2 separate regions of the Homo sapiens genome follow, and region 2 is linked to region 1. Evidence: promoter capture Hi-C in 16 types of primary human blood cells and fetal thymus (Javierre and others, 2016). All regions are on one chromosome and are shown on one strand. The core of a region is centred on a gene start or on the middle of the fragment in contact, and the rest is flanking DNA. Distances in the headings are between cores, read along the strand shown.

Region 1 (3,602 bases), core at 613-3,112:
TTGACACCAGCCCACACAGGCTCTCACCTATTCTCCGAAGGGCTGGTCAGAGACCATTTTTATTGCCTGAGAATCTTTTATGTGCCTGACAAGATGTCCTTTACTCACCATATGCTTCCTCCCCAAACCCGCCCCAAAATCTGTTTTGCAGCACCCTGCAGAAGCCCCTATGGATGCTATAATGAGCTTCAATCATCTGACCCTTCCTCAAGTCTCTTATTTTGTAGGAGTCCTGTGCCTATGTATGTAATTAAGTACAGTTTTTCTCCTGTTAGTCTGTCTTATATCAATTGAATTCGTGGCCCAGCCAAGGAATTCATAAGGTTCCTAGAAGGTTCGCTCCCCTAGAATTGGAAATGACCAATGCAAAAGTTTACATTTTTAAACATGCATAATGAAAGGGGCTTAAAGGCAAAAAGACGGGAAACAGCATTTGTTGAAAGGTCTCCCTGAAAAATAAACTTATTTTGATAGCATTTGTTGTTCATATTAGAACCGAACGCCTTTTATGCACATATGAATATGTCATTTTGCGACAGCAGTGAGAGATAATTTTGCAACTGCGTGGTCAGGCAGGTTTTTCTTAGGTGGCTAGCTGTTCGCTGAAACCCTGGTCCTTTGGTTCAAATAAGGTAGCACCCCGTTCAACCTGTTGAACACTTAATTAAGCAACACCTGAAGTGCTTAAAATGAAAAAATCCTTTAGACTTTTCCGCCTTCGTTTCCCTCAACCATACTGACAGACCCATACAATTGGGAATGAATCTTCCCTAGAATCTTTTGCTTCAGCCTTCAGTGCACCCACATTATTTCTGTCAAGGCTTTTCCCCTCTCTTCTCACCCAAACACGATTCTCCATGCGTCCCTCCCCACGCCTCTCCGGGTTCCGTGCCCGGCTGCGGAGGGACGGCAGCAGCCTAACCTAGTGTTAACAGAGGGGAAATCTGACCCAGCCGAAACCAAGAAAACCACCACTCGCCCTTCCCTGTGAGAGCTTTCAAGTTCGTATCAACGATTTTTAAAGCGTTTGTTGTGCTGGGTGTGCTTCCCTCTGCGGCCCTCCTCCACGAGGCAGAAAGTCCGTGCCTGGCTGCATTCGCTTGCTAACTGTACTGAGAAACCTGTTCCGAGAGGACCGGGAAGCCACTCGGGTCTGCGAGGGTCAAGTCCAGCATCCCCGGGGCGCGCGCGCAGTCTCTCCCCGCCGTGCGGGGCCTCCAGGCGAGCTGGCAGGGGTGTCCCCGAAGGGGCTCAGGGGAGGCAAAGGCAAGCCCGCAGTTCAGGGACGGAGGGAATCATGTCTCTTTCCGGGTGGAAATTTGGGACGGAGGCCACCCGGGAGAAATCGTATCGGGAACGGTTATCTGCCGCAAGTGAGGTGCCCACGGCGCTGTCTCCCGCGGCACCGCCCGGCGCAAGCGCTTAGTAGGTGCTCAAGAAGCATTTGGAGAAAATGACAGCATCAAAGCCTGCGGCTAAGAGGGGCTTTTGGAAGAGCCCGTTTCGGGTGTTGCGGTCCCGCCAACCTGCTCCTTCTGCGCCCCAGTTTCCCTCCGCTTGCCCTTTCCCGCCCTCCGCCGTCCAACTCTGGAAGCGCCTCCCCAGCTTCCCACGGCCTCCGCTCCCCAAAACTCCGGCTCCTCTCGGAAGGCGGAGGAGCCAGGATGCCGCCGGCCCCGGCCCTTCCCGGGGCTCCCGAGGAGGCGTCGGGCCGCGCGGCCCGGCAGGCGCGGGCGCTCCTTACCTGCAGCCGGGCGAGCAGCGCGCAGAGCAGCAGCAGCGCGAACAGCGGGCGGCGCCGCCGGGCGCGCGGGGCCATGGCGCGGGACAGGCTGGCGGGCGCCGCGGCCTCAGCGGCCTCTGTGGCCCAGCGGGCGCGGCTGCCGCGGCCCTGTGTGGTCCCGCCCCCGTGCCCCGCCCCGCACCTGCCCCCGCGCCGCCCTCCTGCGCCCCCCTCCGGCCGGGCCCGGCGGTGCCAGCCAGGTGGTGCCCAAGCTCCCCTGGTTTGCGGTGGGACGCGGGGCCCCGCTCGGGGAGGGGCCCCGGGGGTGTTCGCCGCGCCCGGTGCCTCCTTGGTCCGGTCTCCGCCCCTGGCCCAGGTGCTCGGGCTGCAGACAGGTTGGCGGGAGACCAGCCCTGGGTTGCCCTTCACGGCACTGGCTCCTGCCTTGCCGCACCCCAGGCCTGTGGGCCCCGCCTCCCGGGAAGGAATGGGGGCATCGGGGTGGTCCTGCTCCTGCCCCGCGCGCCCACCCTTCGAGGCCCGGCCTTCCGAAAGTGGATGCGCCACCGTCGAGAATGAACGGGAGGAGGATCCTTCCTGGAGATTTCGTCGACTGCAGTTAAGGCATCAACACAATACACCATCCGCCAATCTTCGTAAAATACTCCTCTTGTTCTTTGCTTCAAAATGTTGGGGCCAGCAGCCACTATCTCTTTTTCTTCTCCTGATCCTCTGCCTCCGCCCCTCACCCGTCCTGCACCCACCAAATTCTAGAAAGGCACCAGGCTCCGCCAGCCTTGAGGCGTCCCCCAGCCCCCATCACCACATTGGCCCTTTCAGACATAAAGTGGCCAGATGTCTGGGGCACAGTGTTACCTAAAAACTGAGGTCCGTTCTTCTGGTGCAGTAAGGCCAAGCCATCCGCACTAAGGTTTGCACTGGGAGAAAAGAGGGCGCTTATCTGCAGAGCTCCAGGCAAGGAGAATGGGGCAGCTCTTGCTTAAATCCTGACCTTCAGTTGGCTTGCAAGTAAGGATTTTTAAACGCAGGGTTAATTTCAAGAAAGCAGAAGTTACAGGCAAAATCATAATACACGGAGGTTGCACATTGGTTTGGTCTAACAAGCTGGGATATCTTGAAAATCTTTAAAGTGAGGGTGCTTATAGGTTATACATTCAAAGATTTTCTGACTTGCCATCAGTGAAGGAAGAGAAGCTTTGTTAAAAATTTGGGGTCAGCAAAAATGAATGTTAGCTCTGGCTCGTGGGTGTGACTTCCTCCTTGCCCTTCAGGAAGAAATTTAGAAGAAAGAATGGTGGTCAGTTCCGTCCTCATTTCCCCCTTGTCTGAGGTCTGCATGCCAGTGGATCTGTTTTGTTGGGGGTCTGGGTTTCTGAGAAACAATTCAGGGACATATGTTAAGATGTTATCTTTCGTTTCTATAGGGAATCTAACTTCCTTGGTTATTGTTTTAAGCTATAATTACCTTCTTGCTTATCAAGTTACTTATTTACTTCTTAGGGCTAGCTAGGTACCTGGAATTTCCCTTGAAGGAACTCAAGATTTTCCTTTATTTCCATGCTTAGGGGTGCTCCACAGGCTCCTAAGATGGGTTCCTGCTCCATCTCAATAGCATCCTGTTGTTTTTGTTTGTCATTACTTGCTTAGGATTGTGTCTTTCCTCACATTCTAGGTCGATGTTGGATCCATACGTATAATCCCTCCTTTGTATCATGTATTAGTCCGTTTTCATGCTGCTGATAAAGACAGGGCAATTTACAAAAGAAAGAGGTTTAACGGACTTACAGTTCCATGTGGCTGGGGAGGTCTCACAATCATGGTGAAAGGCAAGGAGGAGCAAGTCACATCTTTCCTGGAT
Region 2 (3,602 bases), core at 421-2,920, 92 kb before region 1:
GGTTGTTTCCAAGTCTTTGCTATTGTGAATAGTGCCGCAATATGTCACACACTTTTAAACCATCAGATCTTGTGACAACTCACTCACTGTCATGAGAACAACATGGGGGAAATCTGCCCCCATGATCCAGTCACCTCCCACCAGGCCCGTCCTCCAATTCAACATGAGATTTGTGTGGGGACAAAAATCCAAACCATATCAAACAGTAAGCAACAGAAAACATAGTATATCCACAATGGACTATGATTTGGAAAGAAAAAGGAATTAAATACTGATACATAGTACAGCATTGACAAACCTCAAAAACATTATGAAAGAGGACAGTCACCACGACTGCATACTGTATGATTTCATTTTCATTTCATTGTATGAAATATCCCAGATAGGTAAATCTAGGGAGAATGCAAAGATTAGTGGTCACTCAGGGCTGGGGGTGGGGGGTGCAGGTTGGAAGAAATAGTGAGTGACTGTGAGTGGATGCACAGTTTCTTTTTGGGGGTGATGAATTGTTCTAAAAATTGAATGTGGTGATGGTTGCACAACTCTGAATGTACACACAAAAAACCCATTGAATTGTGCACTTTAAAGAGATGAATTATATGGTATGTGAATTTTATTATTTGTATTTCTTTACACATACCAGTCATCTTCTGTTTGGGCGTTAGTTCTCAATTAGGATATAAAAGGATTCAGCAGTGATGGAGTTTCTCACAAAGGGGTGATGGGCCAAGGAGGTCATGGTCAGAAGGGCAGAGTGCACCCTTCACTGGCCCCTCTTAGGTGATGCTTGCAGAGTTGCTCACAGTTGAGCTCTTTGTAAGAAAGAACATAGAGGAAAAGCTGTAAGCTGCCAGCTATAGAAACCCCTGCAATGCTCCCTTCCTTCCTGTGAGGCACTTGTTCTAATGCGGGTAGTAACTTCTTTGAAATGCTCCAATCATGCCTTTCAGGGTGAAACCCCACATCAATAGCCAGCTTGGCAGCTCCCCAAGTTAGGCATCCATGACTTTCCTCTCTTTCACTGGTGCAACTGACACCATCTTGGAGTCCTGGTTGTCCACCATTGGTCATGTGAATTACTGTTGGTAACAGCTCAATAATGCTGTCATTTATAAAGAAGAGTGAACTTTTCTGGTAGAGATACATGTCAACAATGACAACACACCCTGGTTGGTCCTATGTCATAGGCTGTTTTAATTTACATGTTTACTTTTCAGCTCCTCTACCGAGGAACCACAAAGTAGTAATCTTTGCATCCCCAGGGCCCATGAAAGTTCATCCCTAAATGTTGAACGCTCCATAGATTGGTAGCCTGCTAGCTGGCAACTTGGGAAAATTAATTGCAAGAGAATTGAATCCTCAGTGAGTGCTTCTTTGTAAACATGGGATATTGAAATTTCTGTAAAGCAAGCCCTCACATAAAAAACTCACTTTACAGTGTGAAAATGCCAAAGTTGATTTAAAAATAAAATAGAAGTTAGGACAAATATATGCTTTTGCAAGCATTTATTCAGTGTTTAAATTCAAACAGCTCATATAAATGATATGTTCTAAACATTTCTTGGGGGGTACTTGGTCATGGGTAGGGTGAAATGAAGTTTTTTAAAATAAAAGTTCCATAAAGTTTTGACTGAAGGTATCATGTTTTTCCCCAGTTAATCTTTCAGGGTTAAGCATTGCTTTTCTTTATTGTGCCAAGAACCTCCAACTTCTAAGTTAGGTTTAATCTTCTCAAAAAGTATGCTCTGAGTATTTGATGGGTATGAATGTCTCCAAAGGTATTCAATGGAATATGCTGGTAAAAAGAGCTCTTTGAGGCTTCTCATTCTATGAATTTCAACGATTCCATTTTCATAAACTCCCCATGCTTGAGCTGCTCTGAATGAAAACTTGACAACTCAAGCCTATCTGCAAGAAAAACTTCTTTATTCAACACATAATGTAACCAGGGAAGATTTTTCTTTTTTGACAATTCCAATGGTGTTACTGTCCAAAAGGAGTCTTGTTCTCTTAGAATGAAGTTCTCAAAATATAGATTACAGAAAAAAAAAAAAGGAAATTGAAACCTCACTGAGATACTACTTCTCATTTCTCAGAGGGCCAAAAAAATCATAAAGAAGGACACCATACTCATTTCTGCTGGCAATATTAAGTGGTATAATCTTTATAGAAGAGAGTTTGACAATAGCTAGCAACATTATATGCATTTGCCTTTTGACTCATCAATCCCACTTCTAGGAATCTATTCCAAAGATGCTCTCAAAATAAGAAATTCATATACACAAGGCTTTTCATGATGACACTGCTAGTAAGAGCAAAAAACTGGGAATAGCCCAAATGTCCATCAACAGAGTAATGGTTGAATAAAGTACCTTCACATGTTGGAGTACTATGTAGCTGAAAAAAAGAACAAAGTTTTCTATGTATTGGTGTCAAGTGAGAATAATTTTTAAGTGCAATCCAGATGCAGAAAATGTGTATAATGGGTTACCTCTTCTCTGTGAAGGAAAAAACAACAAATATTTACTATATTTATTTGCTTACATAAAAAAATAATTGAAGGACAAATCAAAACTAAAAAATATTACTGTGGGAGAGGGAGGCAACAGAGGAGGGTACAGGTATGACAGCTAGACTTTCTGTTTATTTGATGGTATCTAGGAATTATTACTAATATTTTTAGATGTGATGATACTGTAGTATGTTTAAAAATTGCCTTATCTTTAGTGATATAAACTAAAGGCTTTTTAAAAGATAAAATTATGTGATATCTGGGACTTTTTAAAACTTTTAATTGCATTTATTCATTTATTGTCTTGAGACAGAGTCTCACTCTGTCACTCCGGCTGGAGTGCAGTGGCGCGATCTCGGCTCGTTGCAACCTCTGTCTCCCAGGTTCAAGCGATTCTCCTGCCTCAGCCTCCTGAGTAGCTGGGATTACAGGCACGCACCACCACGCCCAGCTAATTTTTTAATTTTTAATAGAGAAGGGGTTTCACCATGTTGGCCAGGCTGGTCTCAAACTCCTGACCTCAAGTGATCCACCCACCTCGGCCTCCCAAAGTGCTGGGATTACGGGCGTGAACCACTGTGCCTGGCCTTAACTGCATTTATTTTAATGCTGAATTTACTCCTGTGCCATAAGTTTTTGTTTCTTCAGTTTCTTCTGGGACATCTTTTTCTTCTGGGCAACCTCTTCTTTTGGTTTAGGAATAATTTGTTCCTTTTCAGTAAGGATCATCTCGATGTGGCAGGGAATGCTCACGTATGGCTTAATCTAACCATGAGCTCTGTAGGTCTGGTAACACATCTTAGATGCTTTGTCCACTTGGATATGCTCAATGACCAGAGAGTCTACATCTCAACCCTTAAGTTCAGCATTGCTCTCTGCATTTTTAAACATGTGCAGCAAAAATTCAGCACTCTTCTTGGGTCACCAACCTTGTGTCCAGCCCCACTGCTTGGCCTGGGCACACCTACCAACTCCACCACTGTAACGTTGGAATGGTACACACTGTTTCTGTAAAGTGACATCTTTCAGATACTTCATGGCTTTTTGTATATGCATAGCCTTGATGGCCTGGGCAGTTTCACGAGTGTTC

The links. The method cuts DNA at HindIII sites, captures the fragments that hold promoters and counts their contacts. A CHiCAGO score of 5 or more calls a contact.
Region 2: a fragment that was not itself captured here is called in contact with the fragment with the promoter of TNFRSF11A in region 1 in 1 of 17 cell types (megakaryocytes); the score reaches 5.6 in megakaryocytes.

The regions. Positions count from the first base shown.
Region 1 is chr18:62,323,570-62,327,171 of GRCh38, reverse strand. It overlaps TNFRSF11A (TNF receptor superfamily member 11a), which reads right to left and starts at 1,862. Exons shown (of 10, transcript NM_003839.4): 1 at 1,745-1,862. The coding sequence starts at 1,819. RefSeq lists silencers at 1,771-1,970, 2,021-2,230. The HindIII fragment of the contact is 5,361 bases long and covers 1-2,940 here.
Region 2 is chr18:62,415,756-62,419,357 of GRCh38, reverse strand. It overlaps the pseudogene RPL17P44. Among named protein-coding and RNA genes, the nearest start is that of TNFRSF11A, 92 kb to the right of the region's middle. RefSeq lists an enhancer at 924-973. The HindIII fragment of the contact is 6,401 bases long and covers 1-3,602 here.